2 separate regions of the Homo sapiens genome follow, and region 1 is linked to region 2. The links are contacts of gene promoters, found by promoter capture Hi-C in human tissues and cell types (Jung and others, 2019). All regions are on one chromosome and are shown on one strand. Each heading gives the region's core, a stretch centred on a gene start or on the middle of the fragment in contact. The rest is flanking DNA. Distances are from core to core; before and after follow the strand shown.

Region 1 (5,142 bases), core at 1,226-3,725, 1.0 Mb before region 2:
CATCCCCAGTGGCTAGAACAGTATCTGGCACATAGGACATACTCTACAAATGTTCCTTGAATAAAGGAAGAATCTGTGTATGTCCATTTGGTCAACTAAGCAATGAGCCTCTTTTAGATGAAAATGGGGAGGTGATGGCTCATTTACTTCTCATCCATCCGCCTACCATAGCCATTGCACACAGCACACCATGATGAATGTTTGGTCTTTGGGGCTGCTTTGTCTCAATGAAATCCTTATCAGGACCCTGCAACTTTCTTCATTGTGTAGACTGTTTTTCTGTCCTGACACTTTGTACAATTATAAGTGTCCTCTTTGATTTTTCATTAAGCTTTTGAAGTACTGAGTGTGTGAGGAGGAAATTATTATCCTAATTTCACAACCATAGAGATTAAGGCACATGAGAAATGAGACCCATATTTAAGTCAGTGACATGGTCAGGATTATAATTCAAAATGTACTTGTTGCAGGATCCCCTGAGTCATATCTTTCCAATGCATTACCCCTGGATAAATATGCTAGAGGAGAAATAGATCCTTTTGTTTTCATTAGGGAATCTATTTGTTGACATTTGTCTTTTCAGAGACACAAGGAATGTGTATGTGCTTTTTCCCTTCAAGCTAAAGAAAAGAAAAAAAATTATTATCACTAGATATCTTTGAAAATTAAGTACATTTAAGAGGGCAATCAATATCTAGGTGTCATTTCCTTAATTCAAATTACCGCAAGTCATAAAAAGAAAATAAAATACTCTTAGGGACAAACTTAGTTCAAAATTTTGGAGGCATGCTTCAAAATTTCCTTACAAAGAGAAATATAGAAATTAGAACTATAACTCTTTGAAAGAGCCTAAAAATTTAGCACCCATTTCAGACATCTATGTGTGAGTCTACTCAGAAATCTTTCTTAAGTAAATATTTGTGAATAAACATTCAAATTTCTGTCTGAATATAAGATATTTATTTATAAGGTAGGAGTCTTTTTCCTGTGTGCTGTTGTTGTAGGATGGTGGATGGAAGAAACAGGAGATGAATTGAAGTCAAAGAGAACAGATGGGAGACTATTGCAAAGGTTTAGATAAGGATTTCATTCACTCCATCAATTTTTATTCATCATTCACTCTGTGTAAGGAACAGTACTTGCCAAAAGGGATATTTCGGTGGGCAAGACAGACCTAGCTGGGCTGTTGGAGGACTTGGTGAAGCTGACGAGGGATTCTAATAAGAAATGATGGATACGGCACAAGGAAGAGGAAGGTACTATGAGGATATATGGTCATGTGATCTAATATAATCTAATATGCTTTGACCAAAAGCAATGGTCCGAGACTTGAGAACAAGAAATAAATATGAGAAATGTTTAGAATGTAAAACCAACACAATCTCTAGAGAGGGGAGAGGAGGCTAGGTCTTACAGGAGTGTGGGAGAGGAATGTAGAGAGATGAATGCTTCTCCTTAACATTATAAGGAATATCCTGGATAGCCTCACCACCCCTAACTTGCATTACTCCTCCTTCTTATGTATTTTCCAACAATAAGCAACTTGGTCTATGTAGAAACCCACATCTACATCACTTTACTCGTCTTCCTCTTACTGGGCCGCATCTCCATTTTCTTCTCCTGGCTACATCTTACCAGTCAAAGATTCATCTGAGCTATTACAACCTTCTAGACATTTCTCCAAGTCAGATAAGGGATAGAGGATATATATATAGAGAGGTGTTGGAGCTGTAATGTGACATTTTCTAGCCTCAGTTCCTTTCCTTGTGCTGTTGTGACTTTTCATGGTCATTTCCTATCCTACTGAATCTACTTCCTTTGTGAAAAATAGAAGAGGATTAATTCCTGGGTCAATCAACAAAACCATTCACATATTCCTAGAGTTGCTGCTATACTAGAATCATTAAGCTCTGGGTTGTGAGTGTTTCAAGCACTACCAAGACATGGCACTTAATGTCAATTAGGAAAAACTGACAAAGTTGGCATCTTAAATGTTTATTCAGTAACTTTATAGCAAGTAATTCTACTTGAGTAAAGAGGGTAAAATGTAAAAGTTTGCAAATAAAAAAGTTAATATACAATTAACAGCTCAATATGACAAGTTACACTTACATAATTTAAAACTAAACCCCAATGAATTCGTAATTTTTCTTAAATGTCTACTTTCTGACATACTTAAGCTTTCTTGATTAAAATAAAATATTCAGGAGAACTTTCCTAATTTTTGATATTTTTTATGAAATGTAAGTGAACACTTTAAAGTCTCAAAACAATAAAACGGTTATTTACACACATGCATACAACTATATACAAAGAAAAGCAAACCAAACCAAACCTCTTGTAACTTCACTTTTTATTTGCTACTTTTAAGTGTGATTCATATAAGATTTACATAGGCTAATAATGTTACAAAAATCTGGGCTAAAACCACATATGGACTAATCAGCTTCAATATACGTGAAAAGTAATTATGAAATTAAGCGGGTGATACTAGGGCAATTGTATTGAAAAGGTATATAGCATTCATAGAGTTTTGCCTCACAATATTCTTGTGTAGATTAGAAATAAACCAGCTAATGGTTTATATTCTGTTCATAGTGGTAACTTTCATGCGCGTCCGTGTAAAGAGACCACCCAACAGACTTTGTGTGAGCAATAAAGCTTTTAATCACCTGGGTGCAGGCAGGCTGAGTCTGAAAAGAGAGTCAGTGAAGAGAGATAGGGGTGGGGCCATTTTATAAGATTTGTGTAGGTAAAGGAAAATTACAGTCAAAGGGGGGTTGTTCTCTGGCAGGCAGGAGTGGGGGTCACAAGGTGCTCAGTAGGGGAGCTTTTGAGCCAGGATGAGCCAGGAGAAGGAATTTCACAAGACAATGTCATCAGTTAGGGCAGGAACAGGCCATTTTCACTTCTTTTGTGGTGGAATGTCATCAGTTAAGGCAGGAACCGGCCATCTGGATGTGTACGTGCAGGTCACAGGGGATATGATGGCTTAGCTTGGGCTCAGATGCCTGACATTCCTGTCTTCTTATATTAATAAGAAAAATAAGATGAAATAGTGGTAAAGGGTTGGGATGGCGAAAATTTTGGGGGTGGTATGGAGAGATAATGGGCGATGTTTCTCAGGGCTGCTTCGAGCGGGATTAGGGGTGACGTGGGAACCTAGAGTGGGAGAGATTAAGCTGAAAGAAGATTTTGTGGTAAGGGGTGATATTGTGGAGTTGTTAGAAGAAACATTTGTCGTGTAGAACTATTGGTGATGGCCTGGATATGGTTTTGTATGAATTGAAAAACTAAATGGAATAAGAGAAGGAGAAAAACAGGTATAAAAGGTCTAAGAATTGGGATGACTCAGGACATCTGATAGAGAGTGCCTAAGGAGATTCAGCATAGTCCTGCCAGCAAAGATTATTTATTTACTTCAGAGTGGCAGTTTGGCGATAGCACCAGGAGATATCAGCTGTGATGACTTGGAGAAACAGTGTAAACCGGCAGTGTAAACAAGAGCAGGGCATGTATGAGTAGTTGAGAACGTTGAATAGGAGTATGACTAGACAGAAGATAGTAGGGATGACAAGTTTTTTTGGGGCACAGTCTAAGTTGGTCTGGTGTCTGGAATGAGACTGGGGCCTAATAAAAAGGAGCGTCTATACAGGAGCTCAAATGGGCTGTACCTTGTAGCATTCTGAGGACATGTCTGACTTCTGAGAAGGGAAAGTCTTAAAAGTATTGTCCAGTCCTTTTTAAGTTGGTGGCTGAGCTTGGTGAGGTGTGTTTTTAAAAGACCTTTAGTCCGTTCTACTTTTCCTGAAGATGGAGGACCGTAAGGGATATAAAGGTTTCACTGAATACTAAGAGCCTGAAAAACTGCTTGGCTGATTTGACTAATAAAGGCTGGTCTGTTATCAGACTGTATAGAGGTGGGAAGGCTAAACTGAGGAATTATGTCTGACAGAAGGGAAGAAATGACTGCAGTGGCCTTCTCAGACCCTGTAGGAAAGGTCTGTACCTATCCAGTGAAAATGTCTACCTAGACTAAGAGGTATTTTAGTTATCTGACTCGGGGCATGTTGAGTAAAGCTAATTTGCCAGTCCTGGGTGGGGGCAAATCCTTCAGCTTGATGTGTAGGGAAGGGAGGGGGCCTGAATAAGCCCTGAGGAGTAGTAGAATAGCAGATGGAACACTGAGAAGTTATTTCCTTGGGGATAGATTTCCATGATGGAAAGGAAATGAGAGGTTCTAAGAGGTGGGCTAGTGCCTTGTACTATAGCATAGCCTGCCTTTGCTGGTGTGTGGCGATTAGGCCTGGTGGAACCGCCATCAATAAATCAAGCGTGATCAGGGTGAGGAATAGGAAAGAAGGAAATATGGGGAAATGGGATGAATGTCAGGTGGATCAGAGAGAGACAGTCATGGGGGTCAGGTGTGGTATCAGGAATAATGTGGGAGGCCGGATTGAAGTCCCGGCCAGGAACAATGGTAATTGTGGGACTTAACAAAGAGTGACTACAGCTGAAGTATCCGGGGAGCAGAAAGTATTTGCGTCAGGTATGAGGAAGAAAATAGATTTTGGAAGTTATGAGAAATGTAGAGAGTAAGTTGAGCATAGTTTGTGATTTTGAGGGCCTCTAAAAGTATTAGGGCGGCAGCAGCCACTGCATGGAGACATGATGGCTAGGCTAAAACAGTAAGGTCAAGTTGTTTGCACAGAAAAGCTACAGGGTGCGGTCCTGGCTCTTGTGTAAGAATTCTGACCGTGCTAACCATGCCTAGGAAGGAAAGGAGTTGTTGTTTTGTAAGGGATTGAGGTTTGGGAGATTAATTGGACATGATCAGCAGGGAAAGCAGGTGTGTTTTTATGAGAATTATGCCGAGATAGGTAACAGATGAGGATGAAATTTGGGCTTGACTGAAGTAATGGGGGCCATCTGTGAAGCCTTGCGGCAGTACAGCCCAGGTGATTTTCTGAGCCTAATGGGTGTCAGGGTCAGTCCAAGTGAATGCGAAGACAGGCTGGGATGACGAGTGCAAAGGAATAGTAAAGAAAGCATGTTTGAGATCCAGAACAGAATAATGGATTGTGGAGGGAGGTATTGAGGATAGGAGAGTATATGGGTTTGGCACCATGGGGTGGATAGGCA
Region 2 (4,638 bases), core at 1,460-3,959:
TATCCTAGATGAGATCCTGAAACAGGAAAAAGACTTAGTGGAAAAACTGATGAAATATGAGTAAAGTTTAAGGTTTAGTTAATAGCAATGTAGCTGGTTTCTTAGTTTTGATAAATGTTCTAAGGTAATATAAGATGATAACATCAGGGGAGACTGACAATGTTTACACTAATATAATTTGTCAATATTTTGAAGGCTGATACGGTGTGATGTAATGATAATATCAGTAGTAGTAACAACAAGTCAAATTTCTAAAGCACTTTCACATATGCTGACTCATGGTGGGACAATGTTATAAGGCTGGCAGAACAGGGATTTTTTTAATGTCCATTTTAAAAATGAAGAGGCACCTCAGAGTTGAATTTACCCAAGATCAAAACTGAGCTCAAATCATGATCTTATTATACTGTGTTATTTTTACTTTCACAAAGTATTAGAAAAGAAAGGCCAAGGTACCTATGTGTGTATAGATGGGGAATGATGTAAGAAACACGCGGGTGGGGGATTAAAGTGTTTGAGATGACAATCAATTTCAATTGAAAGGAAAACTATTGAGGACTGAAGTCTTAAGAATAGTGGGCTGACCCTCTGTTTTTTGAAGCTTGCAGATTTGCTTTTTGTTTTTCTTTCACCCACTTCTCTTATGGATCAGTGAGTTTCCTAATAAAAATAAAGTAACCTAATTGTTATAGTTTTCTAAGTCTGCAAAATTATTGCTCTTTGGAGTCCCTGAGCCACATTTCCTATTCGTTTGCTTCCTCTGGCCCCATCATCACACATTTCTAAAGCTGACTCATAGGTCATGTGCATAAGAAATTTGTTACAACGATTCTGCTTGTACTTTGGCGTGATATTTTTTCTTACTTAATTTTCCTTGTCGTGATTACAATAGATGCAACCAATAGCTTTTAATAGGTGGCACATACTCATAACATGGTTTGCTCATGGTTTAGAAACACCAATAATTTAAAGTATGAATTCTGTAAATCTGCAACCACCCCCTCCCCCATTTTCAATCTCATTCATTTTCTAGCAGCATAAATCAGAAAGCAAAACCTTTGTTGCTTTAAAGATCCTGCTTTGCCTTTTTAAAATGTGTTCTTAAAGATGAAATAATTATGCTGCTTTCCTGGATCAAGATTTCAAAGGAAGAACCTCCTGCGGATACTTATGTACACTTACATACGAAAATGGATGTTTAAATGCAGGTAGATGAGTATTTGTCCTAAAATGTGATCTTCCTTGTTGATGCTGGAGCTTGAGGAGCTATCCCTATGCTCTGCTGCCACCTTGGAAACTCAGAAGGATTTACAACGGAGTTCTGCACAGGGGAAGCTGGAAGCAGCATTCCCACAGCCTCTTCTGGGGCTGGCAAGGCTCAGAGAGGCATTTGAAATGGCTATTATTGACACCCATAGACTTGGGTATGTTTCAGAGAGAAACTATAACATCTATCTCATGGGAAAACACACTTTCTCTGTTTTTAAATAACTCCGTTTCAGCAAGATCCATGTGTGTAGCCTCTGAATACTCTATAAAGGCTCCGTATTTCTTTCTTTCTTTCCTTAGTCCGGAATGGAGACAGAAGAAAGATTCGGTTGAAGATGTCCCTGTGTGGATCTCAGTTTGCGCTCTGAGCGACGTCCTGGCTCATTTGGGTGTGACGGTGAGAGCAGAGGCGCTCTGCTGACAGTTTTTTCTTGTCTAAGCTTCCATTCCGCATCCACAATATGACTCGCCTTCCACTCCAGTTAACTTCTTGGAAGTCCAGAGCACTTAGTCAAAGCTGTTTACAAAATGCAAAGCATCTGGGCGGCCAAGGCAGAGGCTCCTGTGTTCTCTATGTAACCGCCTCCAAAAAAGCTGGGAAATTTCGCGGATCAAAATGTAGGCGCTTAAAGCTGACCCTCTGCTGTCAATGTTGGGACTTAGATACATTTTTTGCATCGTCATTCTTGTGTGTGTTTCCCGTTTATTCCATTCTAAGGCTCAGGCTCGCGCTGTTTCTCTCGCGCGCGCTGTCCCCTCTCTCCATTTCCCATTCACACATCAAACTCCGTCCTCCGCACCCCTATCTTCCCGTGTCTTCTTAGTTATGTGAATGTGTGTCATTAGGCTTACTCGGACACTGGATGGGTGAGTGGGAGGCAGCTTTTCTTGCGGTTTCATTTACACTTGGCATGGGTGGGTGGGTGCCCTCCACAATTCGTCTCGCACACGGAACACAGTTAAAATCTGTAGCTAGAACGAGTGAAAAGTTCCGAATCTTTAAAGCGCAGCTAGGACAGGAAATAATACAGGGTTGGGGGATGTGGACGGGGGCGGAGAGCAGAGAAGTAAAGGAATAAAACCAACTTCGCTGGCAACTTCAATAAATCCGGTAACTGGAGGCAAAAAATAGACTCCGAGGGCTGGGTCTGGTCCGGATGAAACGCTAGGGCTCCTTCCCTTCCTTGAATCTTGGGCGCTGGAAGCCAGCCACGGGCGTCTTGCCACGCGAGTGCCCCTAGACAGCAACACACCCACTGGAAACGCACGTGAACAAAGCTCTCGCCCCCGGGAGCCGCTGCCTGCGGTTTCCTAGTCGATCCCAGCTTCTCTAGGGAGTGTCAGGCGCACACAGGGTTAAGTTAGTTCCCTCCCTGGTAGGAGGGAGAGGAGGAGGAGGGGAAAAGCAGCATACTGTCTCAGGCTGGGTACCTTGTAGTTAGTTGTACGTTCGAAACCTGTCGCCGTCACTTGCGCGTTTGGCATTATCCATTGTCACCGCGGAGGAACGAGCGCTCGAGATATCATCAGTGCCCGCAAATCTCCGCGCCAAGGCGCTGAGCTACTCCTTTCCGAGGTGCGCCTCTGGTCCTCCGTCCCTGGTGCCCAGCAGCGGCGAGGCGGCATCTCCGCTCCCGCCGCCGTGTCCACCGAGCCCTGGGATCAGGGTGGCAGTTCTCAACGATGGGCAGGAGGGACCTCGGCGGCGACCCCTAAAACAATACCATGCCCCGGGATCCCCGCTGCTGCCGCGCCAGCGTCTTCCCTTTCCACCTCCCTGACCCTGTCGGATTCGGATGAGCCCATTGCAAGGAGAAGACGCAGCCGTCAGGTAAAAGGGGCTGCGTTGCCAGGTGAAGTTTCCAGTAACCGGCCGAGCTGCTGCTACGCTGGCACCACGCTGTCTCTTCGGGGGATTTTTTTTTTTTGAAAGAGCTGGGGGTGGTCATCTTAAGTGGGGTGCTCTAGGCTTTGTCTTTCACCTGGAGAGAAAATAGGCAGCTTAGCTCTCTCTCGACTTTGGGGACATCTGTCTGCTGGTCGAATCCACCTCCTCTACGGAGCATCATGACTGAGTTCTGGGTCAAAACGCAAATTTTCTTGCCTGGTAGATGCATCGATGCTAAATTGGGGTTCTCAGTGCCCCTAACCTTGTCAGAGTTCAGTCTCCTACTTCCCTAGATTGAATCTCTTAACTTTCACCAGTAACAACCCTCTCCCCTCCACAAGCTGTTGTTAATGTCACCAGCGTTATTATCAGGCTGTTGTATCTAAAGACACCAACCTACTACCTGCCCGTAATCTGGGATCTATTAGCAGTTAAACAGATGCGGTGGATACTAATTCCTTTTCCTTCCAGTTGGTGGGGGCGGGTGGGGCTTTTTCCAAAACCAAGTCCCTTCCAGCCCTGCTTGTCCTCTTCGGGCTGGCGGGCACTGAGCTGGGGCCATCACGCCTTTCTAGAGCGCCTGCGGAGGTGGCGAAGGCTTGGAGAGCATACGAGGCGGAATCCGGATCGAGTGAGTTCCTTGAGCCGCTTGCGTGGGACGCAGGGAGAGGGCGAATAACGCCCTCAGGCGCTGAATGCAGGGGCAAGGAGCCAGCGAGGGTGGCTGGAGCAGGCCTTGCCAGCTGTTACCAAGTCTCTCCACAGGCTTGGGGGCTTGGGGCCTCCTGGAAAGATCCCTCCGCCGCGCTGACCAGTACGGGGCTCGCTCCCGCACTTTGAAGGCTGCCGCGGTCTTTCGTCATTTATAATCAAGCCCAAGATCAAGGTTGCAAGCTGAGGTCGGGGTACTGACAACGGGAATGAAGCCATAGGGGAAGAGGATAACTGGGACGGGCTGGACCCATACTTGATACCCGGGAAACTCCTAGAGCGTGTGGTGCTCCTGCCAGCGGCAGTTACTGGTGGAGCTGAGGCCACCGCTACTGTCGTCGTTGGCGCTTTGCTTCTGGAACCTCCCAGCAAGATGGCACTCACTGTCTGTTCCCTTCCGATTAGCACCCCCAGCCGCGCTCCCTCCTCCCCGGGATACGTATTAGTCACATACTGTGGGGAGAAGATGGGCTATGTAAATGTAAGTCAACGCGCTTTCCCAGCCACCTTTGCATAATGCAACAGGAACAGCGACCCGCGCGCACGAACCGGGTAGTGTGCGCGTGTGTGTGCTCGCGTGTGTGAGCGCGTGTGCCAGCGTGCGTCTCCGCGCGGGCGTGCGTCTGGGTGGATCCTTGCGTGGCTTGGGAGGCAAATCGGGCGTTTCTCCAAGTCGTCTTAACATGATTTAGGCTCTCAAATACGTGAAAGCGGTAGACACAACAGGGATGCGAAGGAAATAAAAAACAATTGGGGAAGTGGTGCCAAGT

What was found. The method cuts DNA at HindIII sites, captures the fragments that hold promoters and counts their contacts. A contact is called where the count stands out against the background at its distance.
Region 1: a fragment that was not itself captured here is called in contact with the fragment with the promoter of FLRT2 in region 2 in 1 of the 25 tissues and cell types used here (hippocampus).

The regions. Positions count from the first base shown.
Region 1 is chr14:84,497,643-84,502,784 of GRCh38, forward strand. No RefSeq gene overlaps it. Among named protein-coding and RNA genes, the nearest start is that of LINC02305, 580 kb to the left of the region's middle. The HindIII fragment of the contact is 5,685 bases long and covers 1-5,142 here.
Region 2 is chr14:85,527,435-85,532,072 of GRCh38, forward strand. FLRT2 (fibronectin leucine rich transmembrane protein 2) reads left to right here and starts at 2,710. Exons shown (of 2, transcript NM_013231.6): 1 at 2,710-3,100. FLRT2-AS1 (FLRT2 antisense RNA 1) reads right to left here and starts at 4,225. Exons shown (of 2, transcript NR_184170.1): 1 at 1,183-4,225. The HindIII fragment of the contact is 3,489 bases long and covers 1,156-4,638 here.